Regions from separate parts of the Homo sapiens genome. Here all the other regions are linked to region 1. Evidence: promoter capture Hi-C in human tissues and cell types (Jung and others, 2019). All regions are on one chromosome and are shown on one strand. The core of a region is centred on a gene start or on the middle of the fragment in contact, and the rest is flanking DNA. Distances in the headings are between cores, read along the strand shown. Region 1 holds the start of OLFM2 (olfactomedin 2). Region 2 has its middle 7.0 kb from the start of ICAM3. Region 3 holds the start of ZNF561-AS1 (ZNF561 antisense RNA 1). Region 4 holds the start of ZGLP1 (zinc finger GATA like protein 1).

Region 1 (7,650 bases), core at 3,992-6,491:
CTTTGTCATCTCTTGGCTAAAAGTGAATCCTTCCCAAAAGACAGCATGGAATGAGAAATGAGAGATGAGAAATGAGAGATGAGGAATGGAGAGAGACAGAATCCTGATGATATAACAGAAACCCTGGATCCAGCCATGACTGAATTCCACTACCCTCATTTTTGTTTAAGTTATATGAGCCAATAGATTTTTTTTCTTAATCCAGTTCAAGTTGAGTTTCTGCTAAATTCTACCAAAGGACCTCTAAATAATATATTCAGGGATTAGCAAGAGCAAAGGTATGTGTTGGCAGGCATTCACTTCATGATCATTTTCTCTATGAAGTGGGTGGTGCAGGGTGTGAGGAAACAGATGTGGGCTGTGAGAGGGTGACAGGAACCCATGGCTGTCCAAGTTCCTGTCTAATTGGCTGTCCAAGTGCCAATTAGAAAAACCCAATGGCCAGATGGCAAGATCCAACGCCCTGCCTCCCTGCTTCCTGTCATGGAGAATGACCTGTGCCCAGTGCCAGACCCTGAGTCCCCAGTTCATCCATTTTGCCACAATAGATCCTTGAGAAGCGGATCCTGATGTCTCTTCAATGATGGCCCACAATTCTGACCACTGCACCATAGACAGTGCACTCTTCTTAACATTAACCACAGTGCTGACCTTGAAGCTGATATCAGTGCAACTAGGATGCTGAGTGTGACTTTGACCTTAGTATGACTCAATCATAATTTTGACCATAGCTTGGCCAGGTCATTATCCACAGCAAGCTCAGGACAAGGACCATAGCACTAGGACAGAGCACAGCATAACCAGGAAACTGACTGTAGTACTAATCACCACACTGACCACAACACAACCAAGAATGACCAGGAGTGACCACAATTCTGACCACAATGCTGACCCTGGCAGAACCAGGATGTTGACGGCAGCACAGATCCCGGTTCAACAGGACACAAACCACAATGCCATCAGGACACCCAGAGGGCCACTAACCATACCAGTCAACGACCAACGGCATCGAATGCATTGACTAAGGTCCAGTCAGAAAAACAGCCCATCCCAGCAAATTCAATAGAAAGAATTTAATATGGGGACTTTAATTAGCCACACACTGAGGTATTAGGTAGGTAGGTTTGTTTGTTTGTTTGCTTTTGTGGGGTTTTTTGAGACAGGGTCTCACTCTGTTGCCCAGGCTGGAGTGCAGTGGAGTAATCATAGCTCACTGCAGTCTCGACCTTCTCAGGCTCAGATGATCGTCCCACCTCAGCCTCCTGAGTAGCTGAGACTACAGGTGTGCACCACCATGCCTGGCTCATTTTTGTATTTTTGGTAGAGATGCAGCATCTCTACAGAGATGTTGGCCAGGCTGGTCTTGAACTCCTTGGCTCAAACAATCCACCTGCCTCAGCCTCCCAAAGTGTTGGGATTAGAAGTGTTAGCCATGGCACTCAGCCGATAGGTAGGTTTTGTTTTTGTTTTTTTCTTTTTTGAGACAGAGTTTCACTATTGTTGCCCAGGCTGGAGTGCAATGGCATGATCTCAGCTCACTGCAATCTCTACCTCCTGGGTTCAAGCGATTCTTCTGCCTCAGCCTCCTCAGTAGCTGGCATTACAGACACCTGCTACCATGCCTGGCTAATTTTTTGTATTTTTAGTAGAGACAGCATTTTGCCTTGTTGGGCAGGCTGGTCTCAAACACCTGACCTCAGGTGATCCACCCACTTCAGCCTCCCAAAGTGCTGGGATTACAGGTATGAGCCACCGCACCTGGCCCTATTAGGTTGGTTTTAAGCGCAAACTGGAGCAGGTGAATCAACTCTAGTTGCTAGCTATCATCTTTGCAAGGACTGAAACAACAAAGGGAGGTGGTAGTTACCTGAATCCAGGAGCTGCAGTTACCTGGCCAGTCACCTGCCCCCACCCCCCACCATGGTGGGGAATACCTAATGGGACTGAGACCACAGAGGAGGCACAGCAGCCATGGCTAGAGACACTCAAAGTGGAGGGGGGGAAATTCTCTGGCTTCTCCTTTCTTGGCACCCTCCAATCTGCCTGTAGACCTCCCATTGGCTGAGCCTAACCAGATGCAAAGAAGCCTGGGAAATGTAGTGTGTAGAGAACCTGAGAAAGATAATTTGCAGGAGCCATTGCCCTGATACAGAGGGGAGCAGGGGGAAAGTGGGGAATAGATCTAAGTGCATATCGACCAAATTCCAACCATATAACACAGGCTGTAGCTTAGTTGTAACTGTGATCGTCTTAGTGACCAGAGCCCAAGGAGGACACTGTTCATGGTCCTGAAATGCAGCATTCATGAGTCAAGAGTGCTGACTCTTGACCGTGAGACCCACTCTTGGTCAAGAGCTTGTGGGTCCTACCAACCAATGTCCTCCTTTTATGCAATGCCAACTGCAGGCTTGGCCTGAAGGGCCCACAAAGGACTGTCTCCCATTTGGGAAAAGGAGATAGAAGAATAGGATGGGTGCGGTGGCTCATGCCTGTAATCCCAGCACTTTGGGAGGCTGAGGCAGGTGGATCACCTGAGGTCAAGAGTTCATGACCAGCCTGGCCAATATGGTGAAACCCCATCTCTACTAAAAATATGAAAAATTAGACAGGCCTGGTGGCAGGCACCTGCAATCCCAGCTACTTGGAAGGCCGAGGCGGGAGAATTCCTTGAACCCGGAAGGCAGAGGTTGTAAGCCGAGATCAAGCCACTGCACTCCAGCCTGGGTGTGACAGTGTGAGACTCCATCTCAAAAAAAAAAAAAAAAAAAAGAGATAGAAGAATAAACAGGATGTCTTCGCAGGCTCAGACTCTATTTTGTGTCCACATCCCATGATGAGTGTCCTCAACCCAGTGCATGGTTGGTTATTGCAAGGCGTGCTGGGGAGTGAGTGCTAGCTAGGTGCTCTCTTTGCTTAGAGTCACAGATGTCTCCCAATAACTGCAAAAAACAGGTCTTCTAAGAGGGGGAAAGCTTTTTCCCTAAGGTCACATGGCCAAGAAGTGGCAGCACCAGGGTTGAACCCAGATCTGTGGGTCACCAAGCTCTTTCTCATTGACCTGACAAAACCATCATCGACATGTTTTATCCCCAGTAGGGTTGAGACAGGAATGATCCAGGGTGGTCACAGGCAGCCGTTTCACATGACTAGAGGCTATGGGCTGATAAGATCCTGAAAACCAGGGTGTGGACCAAGCTGGCTAAGACCTACTGGACCCAACATGGCGTTACATTCTACCTAGGTTTCACCTAGGATCTCATTATGTACTCATTAAAATACTAAAATTACCCACCCACCAGCGCCCTTGACAATTCCAGGGACACCCAAATTTGGTGTAAAAGTGGGTGGCACCACAGTCCACCTTTTTCCAGTTTTCATGAATATTCCATCCCTTGGTTAAAGAGATACACAGTGGCCTGTTGTGGTGGCTCACGCCTGTAATCTCAGCACTTTGGGAGGCCAAGGCGGGTGGATCACGAGGTCAGGAGTTTGAGACCAGGCTGGCCAATATGGTGAAACCCTGTCTCTACTAAAAACACAAAAAATTAGCCGGCTGTGATGGCGCACACCTGTAATCCCAGCTACTCAGGAGGCTGAGGCAGGAGAATTGCTTGAACCTGGGAGGCAGAGGTTGCAGTGAGCCGAGATCACACCACTGCACTCCAGCCTGGGTGACAGAGCGAGACTTTGTCTCAAAAAAAAAAAAAAAAAAAAAAAAAAAGAGACACATAAAGGTAGCAGTCCCAAACCACCTTGCCCATCTCTCTCTCTTAAGTACGCCCACTCCCTTTTCTCAAGTGTGGACTTTTCCCTTAACAAAAAAATCTCCGAACTTTTCATGATTTTCTGATTCCTCCTTGAATTCATTCTTGCGATGGTGTTAAGAGCCTGGACACCAGCTGGGGTCGAGGCCCCACCAGCGTCTGGGGAGACCCCTCCTAGCCCAACAGTATCAGGGTCACAAAAATGCCAGGCTTCCTGGCCTCGCATATTTTATGCCCGATTTCTTTCCAATCTGACTTATTTGCCCGCCCCCCTCCTCCACCTCTGCCTACATATATCCGAATCCCTAGAGGGGCTGTGGGGAGGAAAGACGACTAGGGACACTTTTTTTTTTTTTTTTTTTTTGAGACAAGGTTTGCTCCTGTTGCCCAGGCTGGAGTGCAATGGCACGATCTCTGCTCACTGCAACCTCTGCCTCCCGGGTTCAAGCGATTCTCCTGTCTCAGCCTCCCGAGTAGCTGGGATTCCAGGCATGCACCACCACGCCCGGCTAATTTTTGTATGTTTTAGTAGAGGTGGGGTTTTGCCATGTTGGCCAGGCTGGTCTTGAACTCCTGACCTCAGATGATCCACCCTCCTCAGCCTCCCAAATTGCTGGAATTACAGGCGTGAGCCACCGCGCCCGGCCTAGGGAGACTTTTGGAGGAGTGAGAGGCAGAGAAAGGCTGGAAAGCCTCCCGAAAGTGAGGCTAGACAAGGACGCCCTTCATATGCAAATGGCTTCGCGTGGAGGCGGTGTTAATATTTTGATTCTCTCGGGGGATGTGGTCTTTCATCTTGGGCTATTGAAACAGGGAGCGAAGAGAAACTCTTCCAGGTGTGGCGGAGGCGGGGAGGCTTCCAGCGGGAGGACTGGTGGGGAAATGGGGCGCCCGGGGAGAGTGAAAACGAGACGCCCCTTTTTGAGGCCAAGCCCACCCACGTGGCCATTTCCATTGGCCTCTTGCCTGATTCTCGGTCTCCTGTCCCCCCAACCTCAATTTTTTCCTCTTATTCCCCGTCTCCATCTATGCCTCACCCCTCTTGTCCTGGCATTGACCCCTCCTCCAACTTCCAATTTCAGATTCTGCCTCAGTTTCCCTGTTGACTCTTGAGTTTTTAGGGAGGGGGCGTTCATCATTTCCCCTCTCTGCTACCAGGCCTTCCTCCTATTCCTCTCCCCCAACCATTCGTCCCCGTCCCACCTGCAACGTGGGAAATGCCCCCGGAGGGTGAAATTTACAAACACGTGACGGGCACCCCTCCCCCACCTCCGCGACCCGCTCCCGGAATGGCCTGGGGGTTGGGGGGCGCTGCCAAGTCCTGTCCTCAGGTCCCCTCGCCGGCGCTGGCTCCCCCACTTCCCCGCCCCCACCCCCCCACCCGACCCTGCTCGAGCTGCTCCCGAAGAGGAGCTGGGGGCGGGGCGGGGGGCGGAGCCCGCAACAAAGACTCGGAGCGAGCGAGGGGGCGGGGGTGGGGCGGAATCCCGGCCGCCGGCGAGGCGGGGGAGGCGGCGGCGCAGGGTCGCCCCGGCCGGGCGGGCGGGGTCGCGCCTGGTGGCGGTCCCCGCGCCGAGGCGCCGCTAGGGCGGGCGGGGGTCGGGACGCCGGGCTAGGGGCGCGTCATGTGGCCGCTCACGGTCCCGCCGCCGCTGCTGCTGCTGCTGTGCTCAGGCCTGGCCGGACAGGTAGGGGCCCGGCGGGCAGGTGCGGGCGCGGGTGGCTCCGGGAGAGGAGGGGGGCGCGGAGGGTTCCCGGAGAAACGGGGTTGGGAGGCTCCACAAGCCCCCCCAGCTGCAGGGCGGCGAGGGGCGGGGGTCGCAGCGGGGGAGGGGCCGGGACGTGCACTCTCTGGCTTGGGAGAGGACGAGGGGGGCTTCAAATCCAGCCTCAAGCTGGGCTGGTTTGGGGGGTGGCGTCTTTGGGGTTCTCAACCCCTCCATGGCCCCGAGCCCCCACCCCGCCATCTCGCTGGAGCTGAATGGGGTTGGGAGGGAAACTTCAGGGGGCATTGGAGGGGGGCGGTTGCTTACCCTTGACTTCCTCTTCGGGGCCGAGATGCCCAGTTTCTGAAGCCCTCCACTCCTCGCCTGCAGCCCCCAGTGTGGGGCAGGGGACGGGACTCACGTGAGAGTGACTGACGGGGACGCGTGTGAAATGCTGTGGGGGTGCAGGGTAAACGTGTGTGTCTTTGTGTCGTGGTTGGGTGTGACCGGGGGGAGTTTGTGTGTGTGGCGGTTGGGGGGCTTGTCCAACTAGTGCCCGAGTTGGGGTGTGATCAGTACGTGAGACAGAGTCTGTGTGTGACCGTGTCCTCATTACTGGCTCCAGATGACTGGGTGTTGTACAATACGTGTGTGGCCAGGTGTGTGGCCGTGTGAGAGCCTTGGAGTGAGCGTGTGCTATTCTGTACCTTTGGGTAAATCACTCTAAAAGGGTGTGTGTGTGTGCAAGCGCTGTGTGTGCAAACGTGTCCATCCATGCACGTGTGTGTGTGTATCTTGGTGCCTTGCTCACAACCGCACACGCCATTCATACCCTTACAGAAGCGGGTCTCCCTCCCCATGGCACCTTTCTCTTGGGCAGGCTCAGGGAGGCTTGCAAAATGTGGGGCGTCCACGCTCTCTTTTGCTATTGGAAAGCCCCTCTCCTCCTCCATCTTGGGAGTGAGAGCACCCCCAAGTTCTCAGATCTGTAGGAGTTCACAGGGAAGCTGGGATCAAAAATAATAAAATAGTCATTATGATAACAGTGATCATTCATTACGTGCTAATTTGAGAGGTGCTGTTTCAATCACACAGCACAGACTAAGGCATTTAACCCCCTCTGCCTCCTCCCTACTAGAGCATGGTATTGTTACCTCATTTTATGGATGGGGAAACTGAGGCGCAGAAAAGTTAAATCACTTGCTCAAGCTCGAGAGTGACAGAGGTGGGACTGAACCGAGGCAGTCCGGCTCCTGAGCCCACACGATTACCCTCTTGTTAAATAATCCGCTCCATGGGTGTGGACAGCGTCCGTGAAGACATTGCTAGGTGGGCTTTTAGGTAGATAGGCAGGGGAGAAACAATTTGGGCACCTTCCCCTTATCAAGAAAAGAATCAGACCCTTGTGCTCACCCCGAGGGGGGTGTTGGGAGGAATGGAGGTTAGACTCCAGATAGAAGGATTTCCAGGCCACGAGGAGAGATTGTGGGGTCCCCTCCCTCGCTCCTCCATTTCCCCACGCATCTCAGCACCCACGCGCTGGGTGGGATAGGGAGTGTGCCCAGCCCCAGGCATGAGGACACACACAATAGGTACTCAATGGATGTGTGAGCCTGAGAGAAGCCAAGAGACACACCTGGGAGACGAGAGACCAAAAGAGGCACACACTTGAGAAACCAGTGGAAAAAAAATGAGCCAGGAATCAAGTTGAATTATCCTTGACCTAGCAGAGGAGACAGAGAACCACCCCCTGTGGCTTCTCCTCCACTCCCTGCTAGGGGGGCACTAGATTTTCTGGCTTCTCACCAAGATTGGCTAGGATGCCAGAGTTTGCTGCCAGAATTGCAATTGGAGGGTGACTCCTACAGCCCCCAGGGCTGGGAGGGAGTTGCTTTGGGGGCGGGACTAACGAGGTCAGTGGAGGCGGGGCTAAAGGACAACGGGGGCGTGGCCAAATGAGGTAATCCGTTAGGGCGGGGCTGGTGGAATCCTGCCGCGGGCTGCAGTGCCTCCAGGCGGCCACCGCGGGAACTACATGGTTGTGAAACAGTCTCGGCGCCCCATACACCCCCTTGGCGTTGGCCCACCAAGCCTGGCACCCCAGGGAAGGGAGGGGTCTGCAGAGAGGATGCTCTACCCACTCTTCGCTCCCTCCATCACTTTCCAAAGACTTCTTCCCT
Region 2 (7,659 bases), core at 3,134-5,633, 410 kb before region 1:
GACAGCGCAGAGGTGGCTGGATTCAACTGTTTAACTTTTTTTTTTTTTTCTTTTTGAGACAGAGTCTTGCTCTGTCGCCCAGGCTGGAGTGCAGTGGCGTGATCTAGGCTCACTGCAAGCTCCGCCTCCTGGGTTCACACCATTCTCCTGCCTCAGCCTCCCGAGTAGCTGGGACTACAGGTGACCGCCTCCATGCCTGGCTAATTTTTTGTATTTTTAGTAGAGTTGAGGTTTCACCTTATTGGCCAGGCTGGTCTTGAACTCCTGACCTCAGGTGATCCACCTGCCTCCGCCTCCCAAAGTGCTGGGATTACAGGTGTGAGCCATTGCGCCTGGCCAATAACTACTTGTTGAATACACAAAGTATTTGGTCGGGGCGGTCACAAGCCACATAGATTAGACTGCCAGTTTCACCCTTTCACATTTGTGTGACCTCAGGCTAATGGCTTCACCTCTCTGGGCCTTAGTCCTCCATTATGGGAGCTTCACACTTGCTATCTCATAGGACTCATGTAAAGAGCTCATGAGGTGGTGTCTGTGAAATGCTGAGCAGAAAGACATGCAAACAAGTGCTTAATAAATATACAATATTGGCCGGGCACGGCAGCTCACGCCTGTAATCCCAGCACTTTGGGAGGCCACGAGGATCACAAGGTCAGGAGATTGAGACCATCCTGGCTAACACGGTGAAACCCCGTCTACTAAAAATACAAAAAAATTAGCCGGGCGTGGTGGCGGGTGCCTGTAGTCCCAGCTACTCGGGAGGCTGAGGCAGGAGAATGTCATGAACCCAGGAGGCGGAGATTGCAGTGAGCCGAGATTGCACCACTGCACTCCAGCCTGGGTGACAGAGAAAGACTCTGTCTCAAAAAAATAATAATTAAATAAATAAATATACAATATTATTGTTGACTGGATGCAGTGGCTCATTGCTTGTAACCCCAGCACTTTGGGAGGCTGAGGCAGGAGGATCCCTTGAGTCCAGGAGTTCGAGACCAGCCTGGGCAACATAGGGAGATCCTGTCCGTATTTTTATTTATTTATTTATTTGTTTATTTATTTTTGAGGCAGTTTCACTGTTCTCCAGGCTGGAGTGCAATGGTGCTATCTCGGCTCACTGCAACCTCCCCCTCCTGAGTTCAAGCGATTATCCTGCCTCAGCCTCCGGAGTAGCTGGGATTACAGGCGCACGCCACCACACTCGGCTAATTTTGTATTTTTAGTAGAGACGGGGTTACATCTTGTTGGTCAGGCTGCTCTCAAACTCCTGACCTCAGGTGATCTGCCCGCCTCGGCCTCCCAAAGTGTTGGGATTACAGGCGTGAGCCACTACACCTAGCCTATATTATTTTAAAATAAAAATTTTAAAAATGAAGTTGGCTGGATAGAGTGGCTCACGCCTGTAATCCCAGCACAGCACTTTGAAAGGCCAAGGCGGGCGGATCAGTTGAGGTCAGGAGTTTGAGACCAGCCTGCCCAACATGGCAAAACCCTTGTCTACTAAAAATACAAAAATTAGCTGGGCATTGTGGTAGGCGTCTGTAATCCCAGCTACTTGGGAGGCTGAGGCAGGAGAATCACTTGAACCCAGGAGGCAGAGGTTGCCATGAGCCAAGATCAAGCCATTGCACTCCAGCCTGGGTGACAAGAGCAAAACTCTGTCTCAAAAAAAAATAAAAAAAGACACATGCACACGTATGTTTATTGCGGCACTATTCACAATAGCAAAGACTTGGAACCAACCCAAATGTCCATCAATGATAGACTGGATTAAGAAAATGTGGCACATATACACCATGGAATACTATGCAGCTATAAAATAGGATGAGTTCATATCTTTTGCAGGGACACGAATGAAGCTGGAAACCATCATTCTCAGCAAACTATCACAAGGACAGAAAACCAAACACCGCATGTTCTCATTCATAGGTGGGAACTGAACAATGAGAACACTTGGACACATGGCAGGGAACAACACACACCCACACCGGGGTCTGTTGTGGGGTAGGGGCCTGCGGGAGGGATAGCATTAGGAGAAATACCTAATGTAGATGATGAGTTAATGGGTGCAGCAAACCAACATGGCACATGTATACCTATGTAACAAACCACATTGTGCACATGTACCCTGGAACTTAAAAAAAAAAAAAAAAAAAAGGAGTCTGAAACCATGAACAATCATCGTTATTTACCAAGTTTGTTCTTGTTGAGGAAAAAAATACAAAAATTAGCCAGGTGTGGTGGCACACACCTGTAATCTCAGCTACTCTAGAGGCTGAGGCAGGAGAATTGCTTGAACTGGAAGGCAGAGTGCATTGAGCTGAGATCGCACCACTGCACTCCAGCCTGGGCGATAGAGCAAGACTGTCTGAAAAAAGAAAAGAAAAAGGTATTATTGTTATTCTGGTGTTTGGCAAAGCGTTTCTACTTAGCCTGTGTGACTTGAGATGGTGGGTCAGACACATTTGTGAAAGGCAGTTAAATATCCCCAGAAGGACTTCTTTTGTGGGGCTGGGGACTGGGTCTCGCTCTGTCACCCACACTGGAGTACAGTGGTGCTATTATAGCCCATGGCAACCTTGACCTCCCAGGCGCAAGTGATCCTCCCACCTCAGCCTCTGTAGGAGCTGGGACTATAGGCTCCTGCCACGTCACCTGGCTAATTTTTTTTTTTTTTTTTTTTTTTTTTTGAGAGGGAGTCTCACTATGTCACCCAGGCTGGAGTGCAATGGTACGGTCTAGGCTCAGTGCGACCTCCACCTCCAGGGTTCAAGCGATTCTCCTGCTTCAGCCTCCCCAGTAGCTGGGATTACAGGCGCCCGCCACCACGCCTGGCTGATTTTTGTATTTTTAGTTGAGACAGGATTTCACCATGTTGGCCAGGCTGGTCTCGAACTCCTGACCTCAGGTGATCCACCCACCTCAGCCTCCGAAAGTGCTGGGATTACAGGTGTGAGCCACCATGCCTGGCCATCTGGCTAATTTTAAAATTTTTTGTAGACACAGCGTCTTACTCTGCTGCCCAGCCTGGTCTCAAACTCCTGGGCTCAAGTGATCCTCCCACCTTAGCCTCTTGAGTAGTAGGATAACCACTCAATTTGTTTAGAGCAGTTTTAGGTTTACAGCAAAGTTGAGTGGAAAATACAGAGTTCTCCTATATCCCCTCCCTCCCATCCCCCTGCACAACCTCCCTTGCTGACCTATCCTGTACCACAGTGATACATGTGTTAGAATCTATGAACCTCGGTGACTCATGCCTGTAATTCCAGCACTTTGGGAGGTCAGGAGTTCGAGACCAGCCTGGGCAACATGGTGAAACCCCATCTCTACTAAAAATACAAAAACTAGCCAGGCATGGTGGCAGGCACCTGTACTCCCAGCTACTTAGGAGGCTGAGGCAAGAGAATTGCTTGAACCCAGGAGGTGGTGGTGGAGGTTGCAGTGAGCCAAGATCATGCCACTGCACTCCAGCCTGAGCGGCAGAGCAAGACTCTGTCTGAAAAAAAAAATCTATGAACCTCCACTGACATATCATTTTCTCCTGAGGTCTGTACTTTACATGAGGGTTCACTCTTGCTGTTGTACGTTCTGTGGGGCTGGACAAACGTATAAGGCATGAACCCACCAATATAGTATCACATGGAGTAGTTTCACTGCGCTAAACGTCATTCATGCGCTGCCTGTTCATCCCTCTCTTCTCACTAACCCCTGGCAACTGCTGATCTGTTATTTACTGTCCCCATAGTTTTGAAACAGAGTCTTGCTCTGTCATCCAGGCTGGAGTGCAGTGGCGCAATCTCTGCTCACTACAACCTCCGCCTCCCACGCTTAAGCTAATTTCTGTATTTTTTGTAGAGGCGAAGTTTCTCCATGTTACCCAGGTTGATGAAGTCCCGGGCTTAAATGATCCCTCTACCTCAGCCTCCCAAAGTGCTGGGCTTTCAGGTATGAGCCACCACACCCGCCCAATAGATCATTTATTTTTAGTTCTGAATAAAAAAATAAAAATACAAACAAGGTCCCCAATTGCGTTTGGTTGAGGCCAGTTTTCTGTAAGTCTCTTTTAGTTCTGAAAAAATAAAATAAATAAAAATACAGGGCCGGGCACAGTGACTCACGCCTGTAATCCCAGCACTTTGGGAGGCCAAGGCAGGCGGATCACCTGAGGTCAGGAGTTCAAGACCAACATGGCCAACATGGCAAAACCCCATCTCTACTAAAAATACAAAAATTAGCCGGATGCGGTGGCGTGTGCCTGTAATCCCAGCTACTCAGGAGGCTGAGGCAGGAGAATCACTTAAACCCAGGAGGCGGAGGTTGCAGTGAGCTGAGATTGTGCCATTGCACTCCAGTCTGGGCAACAAGAGTGAAACTCCATCTCAAAAAATAAAATAAAATAAAAAATAAAAATAAATAAAAATACAAACAAAGTCCCCAATTGCATTTGCTCGAGGCCAGTTTTCTTACGTCTCTTTTGGTCTGTGGGTTCCTCTTTCTGTCTTTTGCCCCCTTGCAACATATTTGTGGATGAAACTAGGTTGTTTGTCTTGTTGACTTTTTTTTTTGAGATGGAGCCTTGCTCTGTCGCCCAGGCTGGAGTGCAGTGGCACGATGTCGGCTCACTGCAACCTCTGCCTCCTGGGTCCAAGTGATTCTCCTGCCTCAGCCTCCTGAGTAGCTGGGATTACAGGCGTGGGGCCAGTACGCCTGGCTAATTTTTGTATTTTTAGTAGAGATGGGGTTTCGCCATGTTGGCCAGGCTGGTCTCGAACTCCTAACCTCAGGTGATCTGCTCGCCTCAGCCTCCCAAAGTGCTGGAATTACAGTCATGAGCCACTGCGCCTGTCATGTTTTCTTCTTTTTCTGCATTGCTATTAAAAATTTTGGCTGGGGCCGGGCGCAGTAGCTCATGCCTGTAATCCCAACTCTTTGGGAGGCCAAGGTGGGTGAATCACCTGAGGTCAGGAGTTAAAGACCAGCCTGGCCAACATGGTGAAACCCCTGTCTCTACTAAAAATACAAAAATTAGCTGGGTGTGGTGGCGGGCGCCTGTTATCTCAGCTACTTGGGTGGCTGAGGCAGGAGAATCACTTGAACCTGGGAGGTGGAGGTTGTAGTGAGCCGAGATCGTGCCACCGCACTCCAGCCTGGGCGACAGAGCAAGACTTAATCTCAAAAAAAAAAAAAGAAAAGAAAAAATTGTTTCCTCATAATCGTAAAGCTGTTATACTCACTGCAGGCACAGCTAGTACATTTTGCTCAACCCCACAGGCTCCGTTCCCTTTACGAGGTATTTATTTATTTATTTATTTTTATTTTTGCGACGGAGTCTCTCTCCTCTGTCATCCTGGCTGGAGTGCAGTGGCATGATCTCGGCTCACTGCAACCTCGGCCTCCAGGGCTCAGTCGGTTCTTGGGCCTCAGTCTTCCAAGTAGCTGTAAGTACAGGCATGCGCCACCACGTCCGGTGAATTTTTTGTATTTTTAGTTGCCATGTTGGCCAGGCTTTTACTAGCTATTTATAATATGCTTGAGTCACTCACAGGAATGAAATACTGTCAGCATCAATAGTTAGCAGCTCTTTCAAAATACATTTTATTGCCTCTATAAGAAACCTTAACTATTCTATTAGTCCAGTAATTCCAAATGGTCTTATTATTTCTTGGGTTTTGTTTGTTTGTTTGTTTGTTTTTGAGACGTTGTTTCTCTCTTGTTGCCCAAGCTGGAGTGCAATGGTGTGACCTCGGCTCACTGCAAACTCCTCCAAGGTTCAAGTGATTCTCCGGCCTCAGCCTCCTGAGTAGCTGGGATTACAGGCACGAGCCACCATGTCTGGCTAATTTTTTGTATTTTTAGTAGAGACTGGGTTTCCTCATGTTAGTCAGGCTGGTCTCGAACTCCTGACCTCAGGTGATCCATCCGCTTCAGCCTCCCAAAGTCCTGGGATTATAGGCATGAGCCACCGCACCTGGCTCGTCTTATTATTTCTATACATAATATATGCTCTTTTGGCTGGGCGTGGTAGCTCAAGCCTGGTGGCAGACGCCTGTAATCCCAGCTACTTGGGAGGCTGAGGCAGGAGAATCGCTTGGACCTGGAAGGCAGAGGTTGCAGTGAGCCAAGACTGAACCACCTCACTCCAGCCTGGGCAACAGAGTGAGAACCCATCTCAAAAAATACTGATAATAATAAGATCATCTTCAGAACTCAGTTCCTGGTGCATGAAGAGATTCAATACAGCCCCCTCACTCTCAGTTCTTAGAAAGAAGAATATGCCAGCCTGACCAACATGGTGAAACCCCCGTCTCTAATAAAAATACAAAAATTAGCTGGGTGTGGTGGCGCACGCCTGTGATCCCAGCTACTCAGGAGGCTGAGGCAGGAGAATCGCTTGAACCTGGGAGGTGGAGATTGCAGTGAGCCCAGCCTGGGAGACAGAGCAAGACTCATTCTCAAAAAAAAAAAAAGAAGAAGAATATGAAAGAGATAGGATCAATAACTACCTTCATTGTTTAATAGCCTAAGAGTGAAAGCCCAGCACAGTGGCTCACCCCTGTAATAATCCCAGCACTTTGGGAGGTTGAGTTGGGAGGATCACTTGAGCCCAGGGGTTCGAGAACAGCCTGGGCAATATGTCAAAAGCTCCTCTGTAGAAAAAATACAAAAATTAGCCGAGTGTAGTGGCACACACCTATAGTCCCAGCTACTAGGGAGGCTGAGGTGGGAGGATCACCTGAGCCTGGGAGGTCAAGGTTGCAGTGAGCCATGATTATGTCACTGCATTCCAGCCTGGGAGACAGAGCCAGACCCTGTCTCAGGAAGAAGAAGAAAAAAAAAAAAGCCAAATCTTTTTATCCCAGGATGTCTGAAAAGGACAGAGTCTATGGAGCATGGATGCAGAAAAGTAGTTATTCCTACCAGAAAAAAAAAAAATGAAATGTGGACACAGCCACTCAAGATCAGAGACTCAACCAGTGAAAGCAATTAGCTTCAATTTCATTGTCACCAGGAGGGCGCACACCAGAGAACCTGGGAGAAAGCCTGGGCTAGAGCCCTTAGCATTCTCAGTGTTACTGGTGCTGTGGTTCAACAACCTTTGTGGGAATGAGGAGAACCAGAGACCATCACCATCACACGTAAAAAGGATCCTATAGCAACAATGTGGCTGTCAAAAATCAGCTGGAGGCCAGGCGCGGTGGCTCACGCCTGTAATCCTAGCACTTTGGGAGGCCGAGGCGGGCGGATCACCTGAGGTCAGGAGTTTGAGACTAGCCTGGTCAACATGGTGAAACCCCGTCTCTACTAAAAATGCAAAAAATTAGCTGGGTGTGGTGGTGCATGCCTGTAATCCCAGCTACTTGGGAAGTTGAGGCGGGAGAATCACTTGAACCTGGGAGGCAGAGGTTGCAGTGAGCCCAGACTATGCCACTGCACTCCAGCCTGGGTGACAGACTGAGACCCTGTCTCAAAAAAAAAAAAAAAATCAGCTGGAGCTTAAATTATACATTGTTTGCAATCCAGACTGTACTTGCTTTCTTGTCAATGGCTTGAGATATGTGCAGAGGCCCCTTAAACATGTGTAGGTGACCTTTCTCTGTCGCCCAGGCTGGAGTGCAGGGGCACAATCTCAGCTAACTGCAACCTCCACTTCCCGGGCTC
Region 3 (7,156 bases), core at 513-3,012, 310 kb after region 1:
GAGACGGAGTTTCACCATATTGGCCAGACTTATCCTTCAGAGCTTTTTAACTGGAAGATATGCTGCCAGTCTGGTGAATATCATCATTTAGTTATTTATAAGCCCCCTCTTTGATTCCCCTTCTCCTCTGAGAGTCTTTCTTCCTTTCCACCCTTTCTGAGCAGCGACCCACAGGTAGAAGCCTGTGGATATTCTCTTGCTGTTTGCTACCTCCCCCACTGCTAACCTGTCAAAGCACATCCCAAATGAAGCTTGTGTGCTACTGCCGCCTTGTGGTAACATCTTTTTCCTTACTCAGCCAAGAAATCACTTAAACACCCTAAATACGTGTGTGGTTTTATTTTTTACACTTAGATCCCTAGTCCACTTGGAGTTTATTCTTGTATATGCTGTGAAGTATGGATTTAATTTCATCTTTTCTCAGATGGCTAACCAGCTATCTTAGACCTTCCATTTGTTACAAATGGCATTTTTTGCCCCATTTATCTGAAATGCCACTTTTTTTTTTTAGACGGTGTTTCTCTCTTGTTGCCCTGGCTGGAATGCAATGGCACGATCTCCACTCACCCCAACCTCCGCCTCCTGGGTTCAAGCGGTTCTCCTGCCTCAGCTTCCTGAGTACCTGGGATTATAAGCATGTGCCACCATGCCCAGCTAATTTTGTATTTTTAGCAGAGACGGGGTTTCTTCATGTTGGTCAGGATGGTCTCTAACTCGTGACCTCAGGTGATCCACCCGCCTCTGCCTCCAAAAGTGCTGGAATTATAGGCATCAGCCAATGCACCCGGCTTTTTTTTTTTTTTTTTTTTTTTTTTTTGAGACAGAGTCTCGCTGTGTCGCCAGGCTGGAGTGAAATGGCGTGATCTCGGCTCACTGCAACCTCTGCCTCCCAGGTTTGAGCAATTCTCTTGCCTCAGCCACCCGAGTAGCTGGGCTTACAGGCGCCCACCACAACGCTTGGCTAATTTTTTTTTTTTTTTTTTTAGACGGAGTCTCGCTCTATCGCCAGGCTGGAGTGCAGGGGAGCGATCTTGGCTCACTGCAACCTCCGCCTCCTGGGTTCAAGCGATTCTCCTACTTCGGCCTCCTGAGTAGCTGGGATTACAGGCACCCGCCACCATGCCAGCTAATTTTTCTATTTTTAGTAGAGACGGGGTTTCACCAAGTTGGCCAGGATGGTCTCGATCTCGTGACGTCGTGATCTGCCTGCCTCAGCCTCCCAAAGTGCTGGGATTACAGGCATGAGCCAGCATGCTCGGCCATGCTTGGCTAAATTTTTTTTCTTTTTTGAGACAGAGTCTCACTCTGTTGCCCAGGCTGGAGTGCAGTGGTGCGATCTCAGCTTACTGCAACCTCCGCCTTCTGGGTTCAAGCAATTCTCCTGCCTCAGCCTCCTGAGTAGCTGAGATTACAGGCATGCATCACCACACCCAGCTAATTTTTGTATTTTTAGTAGAGATGGGATTTCACCATGTTGGTCAGACTAGTCTCGAACTCCTGACCTCATGATCCGGCTGCCTCGGCTTCCCAAAGTTCTGGGATTACAGGCATGAGCCACCGAACCCGGCTATGTTTTTGTATTTTTAATAGAGATGGGGTTTCACCATGTTGGGCAGGCTGGTTTTGAACTCCTGACCTCAAGTGATCCTCCTGCCTCAGTCTCCCAAATTGCTAGGATACAGGCATGAGCCACCGCATCTGGCAAAATACATTTATGAACCAAATTTCTACATGTTCATGGGTCTATTTTTTGATATTTTATTAGTTTCTGTTTCACGTGCTAGTACCACATAGTTTTAATTATAGAGGCTTTATAGTATGTTTTTTAAATTAATTAATTAATTAATTTTTTAGACAGAGTCTCACTCTGTCAGCCAGGCTGCAATTCAGTGGCACAATCTCGGCTCACTGCAACCTTCATCTCCCAGGCTCAAGCAACTCTCCTGCCTCAGCCTCCCAAGTAGCTGGGATTACAAGCATGTGCCACCACGCTTGCTAATTTTTGTACTTCTAGTAGAGACAGGGTTTCACCATGTTAGCCAGGCTGGTATCAAACCCCCGACTTCAGGTAATTTGCCTGCCTCGGCCTCCCAAATTGCTGGGATTACAGGCGTGAGCCACTGTGCCCGGACTTTATTTTTATTTTAAAATAATGTAATTCTTTGCCTTGCATGAAAACTGTCAATAGTATGTTTTAATATCTGCTGCTCATCATTGCTTTTGTTTTTGTTTTCTTGGTTATTATCAGATGTTTGTTCCTCCACATAAACTTCAGTATCAATGTACTTAACTCCAGAAAAAAACTTTTGGTATTTTTATTGGGAGTATGTTACATTTCTGAATAATCTTGGGGAGAATGTCTGGTATCAGTGCTATTTTACAACGTAGGAAATGTGTTCCTGGCCCATGTGGTAAGATCAGAAAAATAACAACAGAAATACATATTTTTGGCTGGGGCAGTGGCTCATGCCTGTAATCCCAGCTCTTTGGGAGGACCAGGTGGATGGATCACGAGGTCAGGACTTTGAGACCAGCTGGGTCAATATGATGAAACCATGTCTGTATTAAAAATGCAAAAATTAGTTGGGCGCAGTGGCACATGCCTGTAGTCCCAACTACTCAGGAGGCTGAGGCAGAAGAATGGCTTGAACCCAGGAGGCAGAGTTTGCAGTGAGTGAAGATCGCACCACTGCACTCCAGTCTGGGTGGCAGAGCGAAACTATGTCTCAAAAAAACAAAACAAAACAAAACATTTTTTAATTTAAATTTTTTTTATATATATATAGAGAGATGGGGTTTTGCTGTGTAGCCCAGGCTTGTCTTAAACTCCTGGCCTTAAACGATCCTACCATCTTGGCCTGGCAGATATTTTAGGCCAGGAGTTCGAGATCAGCCTGGCCAACCTGGTGAAATCGTTCTCTACTAAAAATACAAAAATTAGCTGGGCGTGGTGGCAGGCGCCTGTAATCCCAGCTACTCCAGAGGCTGAGGCAGGAGAATTGCTTGAACCTGGGAGGTGGAGGTTGCGGTGAGCTGAGATCACACCACTGCACTCCAGCCTGGTCTGATCCAGTGAGATCTGTCGCAAGCAAGCAAGCAAGCAAGAAAGAAAAAGAAAACCCAATGGAATCAGCAGGTTCTAAAAAATAAAGAATGAAGAAAAAAAGGCCTACAGAAACTCTGACTGAATGGAAGGGATAGACCATGCCATTCATTGGCAGCTTTATCAATATGGAAGAATCATGGAAAGGCTCTAGGAACATGAGGAGAGGCATACAAACAAGCTTTATATTTATATCTAAAAAGTAAAGCAGAGGTTCCTCTTCAAAGACGTTCCTTCACATTTAATTAGGAATAAATAGTAACTTCTCTTAGAAGCAAAATTTATTCAAAGACCTGTGCTAACATTCTCAAGTATCTGTGAGCCGTGATAAAGAAATCAATGTACTTTATATTCTTAGCTCCCACAGTTTAGTCTACATATTTGCCCTGGCATGCTTGTACTGGTCCAGGCAAGCATTAGGGCATAGCCTGTTCTTTTTCCTTATTTGAAGATGTTTTGACCCTTCTCAGCATTCCACAAGTTACTTCCTCCTTCCTTTGTTCTCCTCTACCCTTGCCTCTTTTAAAAAGTTATAAGTTGCTAGCCAGAACGTGAGGTCCCATTCCAGCCAGTGGAAACTGGACACAGCAGTAGGTTGGAAGCATCAGGTTATAAATGACCCTATCTCCTTTGTTTGGTGTACTCTCGTGGCAAAACTGCTGGTGAGTATACCGTTTCTGCAGGAAGTAAAAATGGCCTTGCTGAGTAAATTAAATTTATGTTCAAGTGCTAATTTCTTTATGGCACCAGGGAACAAGCATTTTGAACATGTATATTTATATATTTTTTATATATTTATATATTTATATGTATTTATACATATATGTTTATATATATATATATAGAGAGAGAGAGAGAGAGAGAGACAGGGTCTTGCTACTTTGCCCAGGCTGGTCTCAAACTCTTGGACTTGTAGAAAATGAAATAAATACAGGTTCCTCTTCAAAGGGACTTTCCTCCCAGTCTGATTGAAATAAATAGTAATCCCTCTTAGAAGCCAAATTTTCTCAAAGACCTGTGGTAATATTGTTAAATTCTGCCAGCCGTAATAAAGAAATCAATAGACTCTGTTTTTAGCTCCCACATTTTAGCCTAGATATTTGCCCTGGCATGCCTGAACTGGTCCAAGCAACTATTAGGTCATGGCCTATTCCTTTCCCTATTTAGAAGTGTTTTTGCCTCTCTCAACAGTCCACAAGTTACTTCCTCTCTTCCTTTGTTCTCCTCTGCCATTGCCTCTTTTGGGAAGTTCTAAGTTGCTAGCCAATCCAGTGAAGTACAGGAAGGTGAGGTCCCGTTCCAGCCAATGGAAGCTGGACACAGCAGAAGGATGGACACTTCAAGTTTAAAAAAACCCTGTCTCCTTTGTTAATGTGTGCTCTGGTGGCAAGACTGCCAGCCAGTGGCACCCATTCTGCAGAAAGTAAAACTAGCCTTGCTGAGATCCTTTGTCTCAGTGTTGATTTTGTGACACCAAGCGAGCACCCATTCCCAGCAGACTCAAGCTATTTACCTACCTTAGCCTCCCAAAGTGCAGGAATTACAGGCGTGAGCCACTGCGCTCGCCCGATAAAAGCTTTGGAGGAGCATCCCCCGGGGATGCGTCCCATCCCTCATCCCCGCCCTTCCAGCCCGACCGGCCACCTGAACCACCGGCTAGGCCGGGTCCCTCCTCTAAATCACCCCCCGAGTACGAGCCCCTCCCCTCGCCCACAGTTCCGTCTGGAGGCCCGGTTCTAACCTCACCTTTTTCTCTGGACCTAGTTCTGCATCCCCCTCCCTGAGCCAACCCCAGGCCCTTTCTGCACCCACCCGAGAGGAAACTAGAATTTCTGTGTTCTACCCGGTCCTACGTGGCTGAAACTGGAGCCCACGAGCCTCGCCCGGCCAGAGTGTTGAAGCGGAAGTGACGTCAGCGCACCACCGCCATCTTTTCCGGCGCTGGCTCCTCTCCGTCAGTGCGGTTTCGCCTTTATGGTGGTGGAGTCTGCCCAGGCTGTGGTGAGTTCCACCTCCTTGGCGGTCCCGGGGATAGCAGGGGGCGGCAAAGGAATGATTGCGCGCTGTCGCCTAGGAGCCTCTCAGATCCGCTTCACTTCACTCGCTTCTCCAGGGACTATCAGTCCTCCCTGTGCGTCCAGTTCGGAGAGGCTGCGCGCTCTCTCGGCTCACTGCAACCTCTGCAACCTCTGCCTCCAGGGTCAAGCAGTTCTCCTGCCTCAGCCTTCCGAGTACCTGGGATTACAGGCAAGTGCCACCACGCCCGGCTACTTTTTCTATCTTTAGTAGAGATGGTTTTGCCATGTTGGCCAGGCTGGTCTTGAACTCCTGACCTTAGGTGATCTGTCTGCCTCGGTCCCCCAAAGTGCTGGGATTATAGGTGTGAGCCACTGCACCCGGCCGACTTTTGAAAATTTTAGATTTTGTTCTTAAGTCATCTTAGGTACGTAATGAAGTTATCAATAACACACGTGGCTGGTGACTACTGAATTGTTCTGTGCAGGTCTGCACTGTCTTCTGGTCATATGGCGGGGGGGTAACACCATATACAGGAGATCAGGCTCTAGGGACAAGTATCAGACCGACTACTAGGGTTGTTTGAGTGTAGGTTTTTTTCAGTATTAAATAGAAGTAATGGGCCAGGCATCGTGGCTTATGCTTATTATCCCAGCACTTTGGGAGGCCAAGTCAGGAGGATTGTTTGAGCCCAGGAGTTTGAGACTAGCCTAGGCAATCTGGTGAAAACTTGTCTCTACTAAAACTACAAAAAATTAGCCGGACCCAGTGGTGTGCACCTGTAGTCCCAGCTAGTTGGGGGGCTGAAGTGGGAGAATCACTTAAGGCCAGGAGTTCAAGACCAGCCTGGCCAATATGGCGAAACTGCGTCTCTACTAAAAATGCAAAAATTAGCCAGGCATGGTAGTGCATACCTGAAATCCCAGCTACTCGGGAGGCTGAGGCCTGATAATCGCTTGCACCTGGGAGGCAGAGGTTGCAATGAGTTGAGATCATGCCACTGCATTCCAGCCTGGGCAACAGAGTGAGACTCTGTCTCAAAATAATAATAATAATAATGAGTGATGATACGCACCTATGGTCCCAGCTATTCAGGAGGCTGAAGTGGGAGGATCACTTGAGCCCGGGAAGTCTAGGCTACAGAGAGTTGTGTTAGTGCCATTGGATTTCAACCTGGGCAACAGAGTGAGACCCTGTCTCGATAGATAGATAGATAGATAGATAGGATAGATATAGATAGATAGATATAGATAGATATATAGATAGATAGATATAGATAGATAAATATAGATAGATATAGATAGATAGAGGTAATGATAGCTACTGGGAAGGATGGCTATGATAATTAACTGAGCATGTATATATAAAGCTACTAGAGCTACTTCTGACATATCAGTCCTCAGTAAATGTCAGTTACTGTTATTAATACTTTTGTTACTGAGTGACGGTACTGAGTGGGCAATTTTTGGTGGCCTTCACATCTGTCACCTGCAGAGACAAAGCTCAGGCATAATGTTTGATGACTGATGTTTCATGCTTGTTGTTTGATGATTGATATGAACAGGACCGCAAATAACCCTGTACAAAGAGGAATGGAGATTGCCTCTATCCACCTAGATTCATAAGCTGGCCTGAGGTGATCTTGGCATCAAGGAAGGGATGCACATCATCACACCATCAGCTTCAGAGAATGGCAGCCATTTATTTGTCCCGTGGTAAGTCTTTGTTGATGCTCTTTTTCAGAGATTCTGCTTTAGGTCACCCTCCACAACACAAGCGTCCAGTGAGCTGAGCCTGAGCAGGCATGCAGCTGGTTCTTTTAGGAGGAATTGAAGTGAACCACAGAACAGAATGCTGTTTTATTATTTATTTATTTATTTATTTATTTTTGAGACAGAATCTTGTTCCGTCACCCAGGCTGGAGTGCAGTGGTGCAATCTTAGCTCACTGCAACCTTCACCTCCCAGGTTCAAGTGATTCTCTTGCCTCAGCCTCCCAAGTATCTGGGACCACAAGCACATACTGCCAGACCTGGCT
Region 4 (6,919 bases), core at 4,001-6,500, 370 kb before region 1:
GGCTTACTGCACCTCAGCTCACTGCAACCTCCACCTCCCGGGTTCAAGCGTTTCTCCTGCCCCAGCCTCCAGACTAGCTGGGATTACAGGCGCCCACCACCAAGCCCAGCTAATTTTTGTATTTTTAGTAGAGACGGGGTTTCACCACATTGGCCAGGCTGGTCTCAAACTCCTGAAAGGTGATCCACCCGCCTCAGCCTCCCAAAATGCTGGGATTACAGGCATGAGCCACCGCGCCCAGCCCACACTGGCTTTCTTGTGGTTCCTCAAACAACCAAGCTCATTCCTGCTTCGGGGCCTTTACATTTGCTGTTCCCTCTGTCTGAAGTGCTTTCCCAGCAAACATTCTGGCTCTTTCTCATCCTTCAGACCTCAGTGTAAATGTCATGTCCCTAACAATCCCATTCCCCTCAGCCCAGCTGAAGTACCCATGCCCTAGTTACTCTGTCTTATCAGTGTGATATGATATATAGCACTTCTCACTTTTTTTTTTTCAAGAGACGGAGCCTTGCTGTGTCGCCAATGCTGGAGTGCCATGATGCAATCATACCTCACTGCAGCCTTGAACTCCTGGGTTCAAGTGATCCTCCCACCTCAGCCTCCCAAGTAGCTGGGATTATAGGCACAAGCCACAATGCCAGGCTGTTTTGTTTCCTACTTTGTCATCTGTCCCCCAGTGAGATTGGTGACCCATGTCCTTATTCATGCTTATCTGTTGCCTGTCAAGATGTAACAGATGTTTGATAATTTGTTGAGAGAAAAATAATAATAGAAATTTCTTGTCCAGGCACAGTGGCTCATGCCTGTAATCCCAACACTTTGGGAGGCCGAGGCAGGCGACTCACTTGAGGACAGGAGTTTGAGACTAGTCTGGCCAACATGGCGAAACCCTGTCTCTACAAGAAACACAAAAATTAGCTGGGCGTGGTGGCACATGCATATAATCCCAGCTACTTGGGAGGCTGAGGCACAAGAATCACTTGAACTTGGGAGGCAGAGGTTGCAGTGAGCCAAGATGGCACCACTGCACTCCAGGCTGCATGACAGAGCGGGACTCTGTCTCAAACAAACAAAAAAAAAAGGCCAGGCGCGGTGGCTCACGCCTGTAATCCCAGCACTTTGGGAGGCCGAGGCGGGCGGATCACGAGGTCAGGAGATAGAGACCATCCTGGCTAAAATGGTGAAACCCCGTCTCTAATAAAAATACAAAAAATTAGGTGGGCGTGGTGGTGGGCGCCTGTAGTCCCAGCTACTCGGGAGGCTGAGGCAGGAGAATGGCATGAACCCGGGAGGTGGAGCTTGCAGTGAGCCAAGATCACGCCACTGCACTCCAGCCTGGGCGACAGAGTGAGACTGTCTCAAAAAAAAAAAAAAAAAAAAAAAAAAAAAAAAATATATATATATATATATATATGTCTTTAACCATGTTAATAAATATTCACTGACTGAATCTTCATGACAACTTGAGTAGTAGAGACTGTTATTCCCTATTATAGATGAGGCAACTAAACCCCAGGTTAAGTAGACCTGGTCTAAGGGCAAGTGAGTGACAATACTAGACTCACCAGTCCATTGTAGCCACTAATCTGTGCTGCCTTTCTATGAATACCTACTGCGCGTCAGGCAGCAATATACAAAACAAATAAGGCCTCTGTCATCTCACATCCATTTCGGTCTAATAGGGACAATAATCCCACAGGTAAATACATAATTATGACCAACTTGGGAAGGGTTGTCTGGAAGAAAATATATAGGGTTTGCTTTTGGGATGAATATATCAGGGATCCTGATTTTATCATTAAAGGGGAAGATATGTTGGGAGGGGTTATGAAAGGCCTACCTAAAGTTCTGTTCTGGAATCCAGCAGCCAATAGTCTAGGACAGGGATTGGAATGTGAGATAGATTTATTTGTTCATTTATTTATCTGAGACAGAGTCTCGCTCTATCACCCAGGCTGGACTGCAATGGCATGATCTTGGCTTACTGCAACCTCTACCTCCAGGGTTCAAGTGATTCTCCTGCCTTAGCCTCCCGAGTAGCTGGGATTACAGGCAACTGCCACCATGCCCGGCTAAGTTTTTGTATTTTTAATAGAGATGGGGTTTCGCCATGTTGGCCAGGGTGGTCTCAAACTCCTGACCACAGTTGATCTGCCTGCCTTGGCCTCCCAAAGTGCTGGGATTACAGACATGAGCCACTGTGCCGGGCTAGTAGAGGTAAGTGGCCTGGCAAGGTGTGGTGGCTCACGCCTGTAATCCCAGCACTTTGGGAGGCTGAGGCGAGCGGATCACGAGGTCAGGAGATCAAGACCATCCTGGCTAACATGGTGAAACCCTGTCTCTACTAAAAATACAAAAACAAAATTAGCCAGGCATGGTGGCAGGCGCCTGTAGTCCCAGCTGCTCTGGGAGGCGGAGGCAGGAGAATGGCGTGAATCCGGGAAGCGGAGCTTGTAGTGAGCCGAGATCACGCCACTGCAGTCCAGCCTGGGCAACAGAGCGGGACTCCATCTCTAAGAAAAAAATTACAAAGGAAAACAAAGGAATGAATGAGGGGGATGGGGGAACTGCAAGACTAAGTGAAGGAGTTTGGATTTTATTCTGAGTGTGAAAACCCTTTGGAAAGTTTTAGGCCAGGAGGGACATGATCCCCAAGCACCGGTCTCTGTGATCAGAGGATGTGGGGGTGTGACCAAGGGCAGGTGGTCAGCAGAAAACTTCAGGTTCTGTCTCTTTCAACCCTAATTCCTGGTCTGGTGCAGTGGCATATGCCTGTAGTCCCAGCATTTTGGGAAGCCAAGGCAGGCAGATTGCTTGAGCTTAGGAGTTTGAGACCAGCCTGGGCCACATGGTGAACCTCGTCTCTACAAAAAAAAAAAAAAAAAAAAAAAATATGGCCAGGTGCGGTGGCTCACACCTGTAATCCCAGCACTTAGGGAGGCCGAGATAGGTGGATCACCTGAGGTCAGGAGTTCAAGACCAGCCTGGCCAGCATGGCAAAACCCCATCTCTACTAAAAATACAAAATTAGCTGGGCGTGATGGTGGGCACCTGTAATCCCAGCTACTTGGGAGGCTGAGGCAGGAGAATCACTTGAACCTGGGAGGCAGAGGTTGCATTGAGCCGAGATCATACCATTGCACTCCAGCCTGGGCAAAGAGAGCGAAACTCCACCTCAAAAAAAAAAAAAAAAAAAAATTAGCCAGGTGTGGTGGTGCGCACATGTAGTCCCAGCTACTCGGGAGGCTGGGGTGGGAGGATCGCTTGAGCCGGGAGGTTGAGGCAGTAAGCTATGACTGAGCCATGGCACTCCAGGCTGGGCAACAGAGTGAGACCCTGTCTCAAAAAAAAAAAAAAAAAATCCTGGCCGGGTGCAGTGGCTTACGCCTGTAATCCCAGCACTTTGGGAAGCTGAGGCGGGCAGATCATGAGGTCAGGAGATCAAGACCATCCTGGCTAACATGGTGAAACCCCAGCTCTACTAAAAAAATATAAAAAAATTAGCCAGGCGTGGTGGCAGGCACCTGTAGTCCCAGCTACTTGGGAGGCTGAGGCAGGAGAATGGCGTGAACCCGGGAGGCAGAGCTTGCAGTGAGCCGAGATCGTGCCACTGCACTCCAGCCTGGGCAACAGAACAAGACTCCATCTCAAAAAAAAAAAAAACAAAATCCTAATGCCTGATTCCTTCCCCCACCACACTGACTGCTGAGTCAGCCGGTCCATCCTCCAAGAGCAGTGGAGAGGTGGGGACACATTAGCCCAGCACAGTGATAGGGTCACAGCAAGGGCTCACAGACTGCGGGGAGCCTGCCTGGCCTTTCCCCTCTCAGCTACCTGGCAGCCAAGTCCCTGCTCCTTAATGGTTCTGCATCTCAGCCTGCTAGGGAGTCCCTGGGAAATGGGGCCTCCCAGATGTCCGTTTGTAAACCCTACACACTGGGGAACAGCTAGCTGAGGACATTGAGGACATGACACAGTGCCTGGTACACACAGTGGAGCTGCAGGCCCAGGAGGGAGACGTGAGGCACGTGGTGGAAGAGAGGTCTACTCCTCTACGCCATTCGCATAGCAGCCCCTTCCTGACTCTGCCACTCACCTGCGCCCCCTTCACTTCCCACCCCTAGGGGCCTGTGAAGCCTCCCTGGCCTGCTCCACCTGCCATGTGTATGTGAGTGAAGACCACCTGGATCTCCTGCCTCCTCCCGAGGAGAGGTGAGTGGGTCAGCCCTGTCTAGCTGGCAGCTTCACCCTGGAGCATTCAGCAGCCCCCACCATCCTCCCCACTTCCAGTTCCTGGAATGGGAGCTGCCTCCCCCACCACTACCCCCTGCGCTCAGTCAGCTTCCTCCCTCCCCCACCTCTGGCCCCCCACCCACCCAGCTAGCTTGCCCTCGGCTAACACTGCCCGTGTCACCACCCTAGGGAAGACGACATGCTAGACATGGCCCCCCTCCTCCAGGAGAACTCGCGGCTGGGCTGCCAGATTGTGCTGACACCGGAGCTGGAAGGAGCGGAATTCACCCTGCCCAAGATCACCAGGAACTTCTACGTGGATGGCCATGTCCCCAAGCCCCACTGACATGAACACCTGGACCATTCCACATTGCCATGGCCCCAGGGCCCAGATTGAGGGAATAGCCAGGTGCCAGCCCTGCCCAGAGTGCGGACAGGCCCGGGAGAGACGTGGAAGCCCCTGTGAAGGACAACACCCCTGCTTGGGAGAGAGTCCCATGTCCAGGCTCTGGTGGGGACAGGGCCCCTAGTGGGGTGGCCTTCCCCAGGCCCCTGAGAATCAGGGTTTGAGTAGGAGTGGACTCATATTGGAGCTGCAATAAATCGATAACACAGGCCCCAGCATGTTGAGTGTCCTTGGGGGACAGATCTGGGGTCTACAGGTGGCTCACACCTGTAATCCTAGCACTTTGGGAAGCCAAGATGGGAGGATCACTTGAGGCCAGGAGCTTAAGACCATCCTGGGCAACATGGCGAGACCTCGTCTCTATAAAAACAGTAAAAATTAGCGTGGAGTGGTGGTAAGTGCCTGTAGTCCCAGCTACTCGGGAGACTGAGGTGGGAGGATCACTTGAGCCCAGGGGATTTAGGCTGCAGTGGAGCGGTGATCAGGCCATTCCACTCCAGCCTGGGTGACAGAGTGAGGCCCTGTCTCAAAAAAAAAAAAAACAAAAACAAAAACAAACCACACCTGCATCTGCTGTGCTGGGCCCCCGGTTCTCTTTTCCCTCTGGGATCTAAGATGCCGCTGGGGATCCAAGGCAGAGGCCTGGGAGCCCCCATTTCCGAGGGGGAGGGCTAGCGTGGAAGGCCCCGCCCCGGCAGCTGCGGAGGGATTTGGTGGGGTCCAGGCCGCCCTTGCCACGCAGGGGTGCGCGGATGACCTGAAAAAAGCCAGAAAGAGGAAAGGTGCCGCCGAGGCTGGTCGCTCTCAGCTGGGGCTCATCGCATCCTCTACCAAGAGCGCTCCCACCACACAGGTCCCGCCCCTCCCAGGTGGGTTTCATCGGGTGGGCCCAGCGGGACAGGGCCGGGTGAAATTAGGGAGGGGGCTGGGCTGGGGCGCAATGGAGGCCGAGCCAATCCCGGACTCCTCAATGCCAGCAAAGCTTCTGGCGCCGCCCTGTCTGAACCTGGAGCGGCTGGGAGGATCCCCCTCCCAGGAGAAGCCGAGGACCCCAGGATGCTGCAGAATCAGTGAGAGGTGCGTAAGGCCAAACCCCATTCCCCGGACCCCGCTAGCACTTCACCACCTGGCTCAGTGATCAAGGGGTCATGACCTCTCTTTGCTGGGGTTATCGAGAAGTGGCAATTTTATAATAGTTACTGAAACTTACAAAGAGGTTCTGGTGCCCAGAGACACTTGGGGTCATCTAGGGATCAGAGGCCATGCAATTCCATGTCTCTGGGGCTGATGTAGGCACTCCCCAGGGATCATCCAGGGGTTATGGAGGGCAACTCAATAATAATGAAAATGATAAAAATCGTAATCATATTATGGCAAGCCAGCGGCGTGGTGGCGCGTGCCTGTAAGTCCCAGCTACTCGGGAGGCTGAGGCGGAAGGATCGGTCGAGCCCAGGAGTTCTAGGCTGCACTGAGTCCTGATCACGCCCCTGCACTCCAGGCGGGGGTACAGAGTGAGGCTCGGTCTCTAAAAGAAACACAAAGAAAAAAAGTAACCTTTTTCTCGATCCTGCAGCCAGAGGCTTGATATCCTGCCTCGGTCACCTAGGGCGGTCCCTGCCTGGGTGATCTACGGGTGCCGTAAGGGGTTGATTGATGTGGAGGGCTGGGCGTGCCTGGGAGGCCCACAGTGGGCGAGGTGAGTTGCAATTACTGCAACTCTTAAACCTTCCACCCAGAGTTAGAAATGACTGAACCTCAGGTGGGGTGTGTAGCCTGTCCAAGGGTACACAAAGAGCCGGCCCAAGTTGGAACCCCCTGGCCGGCTAAACCCAGGAGTCACCCAAGAAAACGTGACCCCACTGCCCTTCTCCCCAGGTCCCTCTGGCCTGCATGCCAGGAGTCGGTCACCGCCCTGTGCTTCCTCCAAGAGACAGTGGAGAGGCTGGGTCAGTCCCCTGCCCAGGACACCCCGGTCCTGGGGCCTTGCTGGGACCCGATGGCTCTGGGGACTCAGGGCCGCCTGCTGCTGGACAGGGATTCCAAGGACACACAGACCAGGATCAGCCAAAAGGGCCGCCGTCTGCAGCCCCCGGGGACTCCCTCGGCCCCACCCCAGAGAAGGCCCCGGAAACAGCTGAACCCCTGCCGGGGCACCGAGAGAGTGGACCCTGGGTTCGAGGGGGTGACTCTGAAGTTTCAGATAAAGCCGGACTCCAGCCTGCAGATCATCCCCACGTACAGGTAGGGGCCGGCTGGGGCCAGGCCGCCCTTTCTCCCAGT

What was found. Contacts are between HindIII fragments. The study calls those that stand out against the background at their distance.
Region 2: a fragment that was not itself captured here is called in contact with the fragment with the promoter of OLFM2 in region 1 in 1 of the 25 tissues and cell types used here (dorsolateral prefrontal cortex).
Region 3: a contact is called between a fragment that was not itself captured here and the fragment with the promoter of OLFM2 in region 1, in 2 of the 25 tissues and cell types used here (pancreas and spleen).
Region 4: the fragment with the promoter of ZGLP1 here is called in contact with the fragment with the promoter of OLFM2 in region 1 in 1 of the 25 tissues and cell types used here (dorsolateral prefrontal cortex).

Annotation. Positions count from the first base shown.
Region 1 is chr19:9,934,106-9,941,755 of GRCh38, reverse strand. It overlaps OLFM2 (olfactomedin 2), which reads left to right and starts at 5,241. Exons shown (of 6, transcript NM_058164.4): 1 at 5,241-5,452. The coding sequence starts at 5,390. RefSeq lists enhancers at 4,222-4,724, 5,391-5,985. The HindIII fragment of the contact is 7,550 bases long and covers 1,480-7,650 here.
Region 2 is chr19:10,342,790-10,350,448 of GRCh38, reverse strand. No RefSeq gene overlaps it. Among named protein-coding and RNA genes, the nearest start is that of ICAM3, 7.0 kb to the right of the region's middle. The HindIII fragment of the contact is 7,561 bases long and covers 603-7,659 here.
Region 3 is chr19:9,619,110-9,626,265 of GRCh38, reverse strand. ZNF561-AS1 (ZNF561 antisense RNA 1) reads right to left here and starts at 4,784. Exons shown (of 4, transcript NR_122038.1): 1 at 4,621-4,784. ZNF561 (zinc finger protein 561) reads left to right here and starts at 5,034. Exons shown (of 6, transcript NM_152289.3): 1 at 5,034-5,104; 2 at 6,684-6,834. The coding sequence starts at 6,810. RefSeq lists enhancers at 4,705-5,124, 5,273-5,855. The HindIII fragment of the contact is 4,441 bases long and covers 1-3,982 here.
Region 4 is chr19:10,308,146-10,315,064 of GRCh38, reverse strand. ZGLP1 (zinc finger GATA like protein 1) reads left to right here and starts at 5,250. Exons shown (of 5, transcript NM_001409033.1): 1 at 5,250-5,716; 2 at 6,515-6,880. The coding sequence starts at 5,580. FDX2 (ferredoxin 2) reads left to right here. Exons shown (of 5, transcript NM_001397406.1): 4 at 4,125-4,212; 5 at 4,423-5,020. The coding sequence ends at 4,579. FDX2-ZGLP1 (FDX2-ZGLP1 readthrough) reads left to right here. Exons shown (of 9, transcript NR_176052.1): 4 at 4,125-4,212; 5 at 4,423-5,716; 6 at 6,515-6,880. The HindIII fragment of the contact is 11,191 bases long and covers 1-6,670 here.